Regions from separate parts of the Homo sapiens genome. Here region 1 is linked to region 2. The links are contacts of gene promoters, found by promoter capture Hi-C in blood cells and fetal thymus (Javierre and others, 2016). All regions are on one chromosome and are shown on one strand. The core of a region is centred on a gene start or on the middle of the fragment in contact, and the rest is flanking DNA. Distances in the headings are between cores, read along the strand shown.

Region 1 (4,356 bases), core at 104-2,603, 4.8 Mb after region 2:
TACCACTAGGTGTCAGTAATATCCTGTGACTTTCAGTTACAGTGCAACCTAATTAGGCAGAGAGCAATGTGAATTTATGCAACGTTGAAGTCTGGCTTATCTGTAGCTCCTAATGAAAAATGCCAAATTCCCTCCTCCTTTCTGATCAAAGCCCACCGAATAATGAAGCTGGAGCTGTTACTGATGCTTGGCTGAGTGGAATGTAAATGAATGCCAAAAATGAATTCTTTTGAATTCTTTCATCCCCTGGGATCATCCCCCAGGACTGACCAAAGAGCAGTGCGTGAAGTGCAGGTAACCCTCTGGAAAGGCTGAATCCCCCAGCCCCAACTTCTTCACCTGTCACCACCCATTATTACCACCACACCCCACCCTGGGAATCCCTGCTAACCAGAACTCCTAACACGTGGGAGAACTATATAAATATCTGGTGAGGTTGTACCTTGAAAAGAACAGGACAGGAGGATGCTTTCATTGCCAAAACTGACCCTGACATCTCCAGACAGAACTAAGAACACACTTTCTGGGAAATATATATGTATTTTTCAGTTACACTTTTGATTTGTGTACCCAGTGCTGTGCCTCCACTTTATATTCATTCAACAAATATTTAACTCACTAAGGGTCCCTTGTTTGGCAGGAAGGGTGCTGAAGATAGACAGATGAATGGGACAGTATGGTGAACTCGTGAGTTAGACTGCTTCTGGGTTTGAGTTATCTTCATCTTGCACCAGCTGTGTATTTTTAGGCAAGTTTCTTAATTTCTCTATGCCTCAGCTTACTCACCCGTACATTGGTGATAAAGATAGTACCTTCCTCCTAGGATTGTCAGGGTGAAATGAAATGCTTATATGTAAAATACTTGGTAGCATGGCACATAGTCAGCATTCTATGATCTCTGTGATCTCTGCCTGTTGGTGTTACGATGTTCCTGTTCTCGGGCAGTTTAATGGAGGAGACAAGTAAAGAAGTAGTTATAGTACAGTATGGGTACAAAATGTCATAGGAACAAAAAAAACTAAAGTAGGCTTTTGTGGAGCTAAAACTCCTCCCAAAAACCTAACCTGCTTCTATTATTTTTATTTTTTGAAAAAGGAGTGTCTTGAGTTGGTGTGACTAAATAGGAATAACATGATTTTACACATGATTTGGAACCTTCGGCCTCCCACTTGCTTGCTGGATGACCTTGGTTAAGTTGCTTCCCTTCCTTGGTCTCATCATGATACCTACTGCATGGAATTATCATAACAATTAAATGAAATGAAAATCTATAGAAACACCTAACCCAGTTACCTGGGATGTAGTATCAGTTCTCTTCTTCCTCCTGGGTTCCAACCAAAATAAAGACAACTTTTTGGAGCGCAACATTTTCTTAAATTGAGTTTCTCCTTTTCTTTGGAAGTTCATTTTTATTATTCTTGACTCTACGTAATATTTCAATCCAGGCTAACAAAATGTGGCCTCTTAGAGTCCTTGGGAAAACCCACCAATTAGGTACAGAATATTTTCTGAGTAGTAAATTAGTTATGTACGTGTATTGGGGGGGTTATTGAAAATCCTTTGTCTATGAATTCCTAAATAACATTATTAATTTTTACTATATTTGGAAGATAATTTGCTGAGCTAGAGTAAATTTAGCTCCATCCACCTCTATCCAAAACTTAAACATTAAAATAGTAAAATCTGAGTTTAGTTTATTGAACTATTAGAAGGGTCATAAATCACTGTTAGTATTATTGTCCATACCCTTCCAGATATGAGAACTGGATCAAAAGCATGCAAGTACCATTATGCCAAATATATATAAGGTAACCAGCTTGATTTAGGTCTAAAAGACAGACTCGTCTTGGAGTAATTGTGGTTTTGATCTAGAAAGCATGTCTGTATGCCTTTATGTCATCTCATGTTTCTCCCTAACTTAGCACTAATCACACTGCATCAGATGACACAATATATATGAAAGATCTGGGTCAGTAGTCTCATTTCATAAATAACAAAGCATGTATAATTGTTCTTATTTTTGAGATGCTGAGGTGTTATAATCATGTACACCCCCAAAGACATGTATAAGTATGTCGATTGAAGGTTTTTGTTTTAAATGGACTAATTTACCTCTGAATTGACTATCTTCTGATTCTGAAAATTGAATTCATCTCATAGGTAATGTAGATGTTGCCCAGACTTCTAAAATGTGGCTATTTTGTATAGTCCACATCTGATTCATACATTAAAAAAAAAAAATTCATGACCTACTTTGCTTTCAGAAATTCTTCCTCTGACATGCCAGAAACACCCCACCCCAGGGCCTGTGCCCTCACTGTCCCCTCAGCCTGGCAGCCTGGAACTCTCTTGGCCCAGATGGTCACAAGGCTCCATCCAGCCTTTATTCAGATACCACCTTGGTGAGACCACCCCTCATACATACTCCCTCTCCTCCTTCTCTGATTCATTTTTTCTTCTCAGCACTTGTAGCATCCTAAATATTTTACGTATTTATATTGTTTATAGTCAATTCCTTGAGGACAGGGATTTATCTCTGTTCTGTGCGTGGCTATATGCCCAGTCTAGAATGGTGCTTATTCATTCTCTTGTAAGTACTTAAGAAAAATGTGATGAATGAATGGCAATTACCTACCTGTTCTGTAGTTTAAATTATGTTTCTCCCCCTCAGGCATCTTGGTGTATAGAGCCCACAGAATAATCGAGTCTTGTCAAGAAGCATTCATCTTGCGCCTCTTTCGCCAGAAAAACAAACGTGGTTTTATTAAAGCTTTCACAGACAATGCTGTTGCCTTTGATACTGGTTTTTGTCATGTGGAAAGAGTGATGAGAAATCTTTTTGTGAGGAAACTGTATCTGTGGCCAAGGTAAAGAACATTATGTGACAAATAATGATGACATTATTTGTCATCTTTGTTTGTGAGATCTACTGTAACTTAGTTGCACTTTGATGTAATATAATGTAAAATTCATTGTAATTTTGTTTGATAGAACCTAGTCAGTTTTATAACAAACACATCCAGCTATAAATATGTATTCACCAAGTTTGTGGTTTTATTTAAGTCGAGAGCAATTTGATGGTTGCTTTTCTGCTGGTCCATCACATCCATCCAAGACAGCCACTTTATTCTTTCTTACACATTTAGGGAAACTCCCAGGGATCTAGAGACCCACATATACAACAGCTTTAGGTGTACAGCAGATTTATTGGCTAACATTACCACTTCTGCTTTGAAAATTACTCAACAGGGAAATAAAGCACAAAGGTTTTGAAGAAGTTTTATTAATTTCTAGGAATAACATTAAGGTTTCAGTTTTCAAACATTTTTGCAACCTATGCTACCATGTATTTTGGTTATAATATATGTTATTTTGAGAGTAGTTGTACACCGGGTGCAGTGGCTTACGCCTGTAATCCCAGCGCTTTGGGAGGCCAAGGCAGGCGGATCACCTGAGGTCAGGAGTTCGAGACCAGCCTGGTCAACATGGTGAAACCCTGTCTCTACTATAAATACAAAAATTAGCCAGGCGTGTTGGCACATGCCTGTAGTCCCAGCTACTTGGGAGGCTGAGGCAGGAGAATCACTTGAACCCAGGAGGCAGAGGTTGCAGTGAGCTGAGATCGCACCATTGCACTCCAGCCTGGGCAACGAGCGAAACTCCATCTCAAAAAAAAAAAAAAAAAAAAAGAGTAGTTATAGTATTTTTAACTTTCTTGATTATACCTTGTTTTAGGAGTCAACAAACTCTTCATGTAAATGGCCAGGTAGTAAATATTTTGGGCTTTGCAGGCCATATAGACTGTCACAATTACTCAACTCTGTTATTGCCCAAAAACAAGTATAGACTGCTTACATAAGTAATGGTGTGACTGCATTCCAGTGAGACTATAGAAACAGGTACAGGATTTGGCCCAGACCGTAGTTTGCTGACCCTTTCCTTATCTGAATAATACACTGCTTCTATTCATTGAGGTTCAAAGTGTTTTTGAAAATGTTGTTGCTTTGCTTTTCATTTGTTTGTTGTTTTGCTTTTCGTGTTGTTTGTAGCATTTATAAAAATGGGGTGTTAAACCAAGACCAGAAATACATAGCTGCTGAAACTCTAGAAAATTGTTGAAAAATATTTGTCTCTTTAGGTTCCATGTAGCAGTAAACTCATTTTTAGAACAGCACAAACCTGAAGTTGTAGAAATCCATGTTTCTATGACACCTACCATGCTTGCTATACAGACTGCTATACTGGACATTTTAAATGCATGTCTAAAGGAACTAAAATGCCATAACCCATCGCTTGAAGTGGAAGATTTATCTTTAGAAAATGCTATTGGAAAACCTTTTGACAAGGTACTCTTTT
Region 2 (4,542 bases), core at 1,634-4,133:
TCAATATCATTCCATCTTGTATGTATGGCTGAAATATTATGTTCTTACAAGAAAAGGCCAGAGGCTTCTGGAACAGGGTCTGAGTTACATGAAGGAGAAGAAGAGCAGCCTTCATTCTGTAAAAACTCGAAACCTTTGGACTGTCCAAAGTGGTGTGTGGCTTTTGAAGCGGAGCCTGCAGGCAGCGAAATCGTCCAGCTGTGTTCTCTCCTTTGTCATACCTACATGTGCAGGCCTGGACTTCCCACGTGCTACCATGAATGCAGAAATGTAGAAATTGACATATCAACAACCATTGATCGTACACTCAGCAGGCAGTTTTATTGATTGATTGATTGATTGAGATGGGGTCTCTGTCACCCAGGCTGGAGTGTAGTGGCACTATCTCGGCTCACTGCAACCTATGCCTTCTGGGCTCAAGCAATCCTCCCGCCTCAGCCTCCTGAGTAGCTGGAACTACACGTGTGTGCCGCCATGCCTGGCTGTGTTTTGTATTTTTTTGTAGAGACTGGGTTTCACTATGTCGCCTAGGCTGGTCTTGAACTCTTGAGTTCAAGCAATCCTTGCGTCTTGGCCTCCTAAATTGTTGAGATTATAGGTGTAAGCTACCATGCCTACCCTCCTAAAATATTTAACTCATATACCTTGTGACTCTAAAATACTATTTCTGAGGATATATATTCAATACACATATGTATATATGCAAGGATGTTCACTGTATTACATATGTACAAGATGTTCATTATGGCATTGTTTATAATAGCCAAAGACTGGTCACAATCTAAATTTGTATCAATAGGGGCCCTGTAAAATACTTTGTAGTGAATCCATACAATGAAATTATTTGCAATATTTTAAAAGAATAAATAAGTCTTTAGGTCCCAATGTGGAGACATCCAAATTATGTTAAGGAAAAAAGGCTTGTAGGATAGTACACATAAAATCATCTTTTTTTTTCCTTAAGAAGGGACATACTTGTATATAGGTACACACACACATACACACTCGACGTACACATAACTCCGTTTTCAAAGGTCACAAGTTATTTCCTGGGAATAGGATTGGGAGGATGTAGAATGAGGTAGGTAGAATGATTTTTGTTTGCTTTTCACTTTATATTCTTCCCTACAATTGGAAACCTGTTTTTTAGCCACCGCGCCAGGCCTAATTTAGCATTTTAGATAGTGATTGATGTTATGAAATAATATAACCAGGCAATACGAGACAGTGTGAAGGGTGCTACTTTAGGCTTGTCCTAGTAGGCTTCCTAAACAGGAGCTATCTGAGGAAAGAGGAGGAGGAAGAGCTTCCAGAGATAGCAGACTGGGGCAGGAAAGAGCCTAGTGTCCCAGGGAAATAAGGCAGGCCAGTGTGTGAGCGTCCAGGCGAGGTGGGGAAGAGGGGGAGTGCGCAAGGTACAAGCCAAGTAGGGGATTGTGTGAGAGGCGCCAGGGCCAGATCCTGCAGGGGTTTGCAGGCCGCGGTGAGGGGGTCAGATTTTCTTCCAAAGCCGCCTTGCTCTGTGCAAGCGCACTATCGCAGGCTGCGGGCGACGCTGCCTCTGGCCGGCGCCCTCCGCCGCTCCAGGCCGGATGGTGCCTCCCGTGGGCATGTAGGTGGGGATGGTGGGTTTTGCCTCTGTGCGGTCACCGCCTGTCTGCGTTGCTGCCTTCTCCGGGGCCTCAGACCCTGGAGAAAGCCCCGACAGGGGAGGGGGGCGCGCAGCCGCAGGGGCGTCCAGCTATCGCGCACTGCGGGGGGAGTAGGGGCGGGCGCAGCGCTCGGCACCGCCACGCGGGTTCGGGCCGGGGAAGGCAGGGGCCGGTACGTGACGCGGGGCATGCACGTGGCCTGGGAGTGTGCTTTTCGGGACAGGTGCGGGGGCCGCCGCGCGCGCAAAGGCGCAGACGCACGCGTGCGGGCACCGGGCACCGTCGGCCGTCGGGTTATCCTTGGCTCCGCGGGCGGCCGCCGAGGTCCTGTCCACCCGGAAGGCGCGACGTCCTCGGGGGACGCCAGGGCGCAGGGGCAACTGAGCCGACTTCGCAACTCGGAAGTTTTTCTTTGGCTGTGATGGTCGATTTGCCCGTCTAAGAAATGGGACTCTGGGCCGGGCGCGGTGGCTCAAGCCTGTAATCCCAGCGCCCTGGGAGGCTGGAAGATCGCCTGAGGCCAGCAGTCTAGACCTCGACAACGTAGCAAGACCCCGTCTCAAAAAAAAAAAAAAAAAAGGGGGAGTACTCAAAAGAATAGGAAAGCGCTTTGCAAACTTGGACACGAGTTGGGCGTTTTATTCACTTTCTCTACTACCCTCCTCCCTTTGGGAGCCCCAGGGGCTGGAGTAAGCACGCTACCACCCACTATACCTCTCAGTGCCCGCGGCACAGGAGCCGCACTCGACTTTGCATCCCCCCAGGGCCTGTACACGCCGGAAAAGCTCCCGCGGGGTGCGGTCGCTGGGCCTCGTCACGTGATCCCCACTCAACGCCCCTGAGCGGGGGGGGGAGCAGCGAGCAAGTGCGCATGCGCATCCCTTCTAGCTCTTCCCCTCCACCCCCCACCCGCCCCCTTGGCTCGGACGCAACCACTGTCAGCTCCTCCCCCTCCTCCTCCTTCATCCTTCCTGACATTCACTCCCTTCCCCCAGCCAATTGGTTACGTCAGGCAGACAGGCCGAAGAACCAATCACGACGCTGTGCTCAGAAGCCGCCACGCGGAACCGGCCGGATCCGACTAATAGGGGCCCTTGGAGCGGCCACGCCTCAACCGGGCAGGGTAGCTTGGGCCCAGTGGGCGGTGCTTCTCCTGTCAGCATGTGGGCGGGGTAGGGCGGGGACCAGCAGCCGCAGAGCCGTCCTCGGCGGTGGCGACGACGACGACGTTGCTCAGTCTTGGGGTGGGCTCCGCGGTGCAGGCCGAGCTGCGCGGAGGGCTCGGCGATCAGCGGCGGCGGCGGCAGTGGGGAGGCCGCAGCGCCATGGGGGGGCGTTAGACAGGCTGCGGCGGCCGAGGCGAGGGGCGGCAGCGGTTATCTGGTCCGCGGCGACCTTCGGCCGGGCCCGGGGGTGGGAAGGCCTGGGGCGGGGGTCGTCCCTGGTTGCACGGGGCCGCGGGGCGGGGCTCGCCGGCCGTCGGGGTGCAGGAGGCCTGGGCCGCTGAAAGGAGAAGGCGCCGTCGGTCGCCAGGCCCTGCCGCCGGGCCGCTTGACGACGACGCTCCCGCGGGGGCCCCGCCTGAGGAGGACGCGGCGGCGGTGGCGGCGAGGCCGCGGGAGGCCGCGGAGGATGGAGGAGCGGAAGGAGGAGGGCGAGGCCGAGATCCAGGAGCACGGGCCCGAGCACTGGTTCTCCAAGTGGGAGCGGCAGTGCCTGGCCGAGGCCGAACAGGACGAGCAGCTGCCCCCCGAGCTGCAGGAGGAGGCGGCGGCCGCCGCGCAGCCCGAGCACAAGCAGCAGAAGCTGTGGCACCTCTTCCAGAACTCGGCCACCGCCGTGGCCCAGCTCTACAAAGGTGAGGCCGCCGCCGCCATCTTGGTACCGCTTGGCCGCCCCCGCCCGGGCCCGGCCCCGGCCCTATCGGCTCAGCGGCCGCTTCGGGGGGCCGCGACGGCGGCGGCCTCGGGGATCCCGGCCGGTGGCTCCGCGGCCCTGCCGCCCCCTCCCCGCAAGATGGCGCCGCGGGAGGGAGGCCCGGGGTTGGGGGGACAGGCCAGAGCCGGCGTGGGGGTAGCCCCGCTTTGGGGTGGTCCGAGGGTCCCCGCTCTCCGGGCCCGGCCACCCGGTGTCCCCCTCGGCCCGGAGACGGGAGAGGAGGAGCCCCCGTCACAAAATGGCGAAGGGAGACGGCGGGGCGGCCCCATTGTGCCCTGAGCCGGCCTCGGGGCGGGGACTGCCAGGGGGGGCGCTTCCCTGCGCCGCGGCTCGTCCCTGATCTGTGCCCCTGAGCTCTGCGGCATCCCCTTTTCCCCGCCGCGACCTCCCTGCCCCCCCGGTCCTCACACTGGGTTTGGGATCCCGAAACCCCTGAACAAAATGGCGAAACCTAATATGGCCGTTCCGGAGTGATTGACGCGCAAATAACATTCTTGTTCTCTTTCTTTCTCTTTCTATGTGTGTTTCTTTTTTCTTTTTGGTTTTTTTTTTTTTTGGCTTGCTTTTCAGACCGAGTGTGTCAGCAGCCAGGACTTTCTCTCTGGGTCCCCTTCCAAAACGCAGCCACCGCCGTCACCAATCTCTACAAAGGTAAAGATAACCTTGCTGCATTGCCGATTCAGGGAAGGGCCGCCTGCGTCAGGGTGTCTGCCCTGCGTTCCAAGTGTGTTTTCTGCTCCCCAGCCCAGCTGCTAACCTTGAATACCTTGCAACTTGAGAATCGCGGCGGTGCTCTAGCTAGATCCACCGGAGGCGATTTTGACACCTCCCTCCGCCCCCCGGGACAGATGGCAACGCCTGGGGACGTTTTTGGTTGGCTTCTCCTAGAAGGGGCTGTTGTTGGGCACCCAGTGTATAGAGGCTGCTGAAGGTCCTGCAGTGCCCAAGATAA

The links. Contacts are between HindIII fragments. The CHiCAGO score rates a contact against its expected background, and 5 or more counts as called.
Region 1: a fragment that was not itself captured here is called in contact with the fragment with the promoter of HAPSTR1 in region 2 in 1 of 17 cell types (naive CD8 T cells); the score reaches 6.6 in naive CD8 T cells.

Annotation. Positions count from the first base shown.
Region 1 is chr16:13,923,890-13,928,245 of GRCh38, forward strand. It overlaps ERCC4 (ERCC excision repair 4, endonuclease catalytic subunit), which reads left to right. Exons shown (of 11, transcript NM_005236.3): 3 at 2,672-2,867; 4 at 4,139-4,346. It overlaps LOC105371093 (a long non-coding RNA gene), which reads right to left and starts at 2,717. Exons shown (of 4, transcript XR_007065000.1): 1 at 2,636-2,717. The HindIII fragment of the contact is 2,829 bases long and covers 1-2,768 here.
Region 2 is chr16:9,088,761-9,093,302 of GRCh38, forward strand. HAPSTR1 (HUWE1 associated protein modifying stress responses) reads left to right here and starts at 2,884. Exons shown (of 4, transcript NM_014117.3): 1 at 2,884-3,510; 2 at 4,161-4,241. The coding sequence starts at 3,285. RefSeq lists enhancers at 1,049-1,914, 4,184-4,353 and silencers at 1,825-1,955, 2,744-2,813, 2,984-3,323, 3,534-4,033. The HindIII fragment of the contact is 14,700 bases long and covers 1-4,542 here.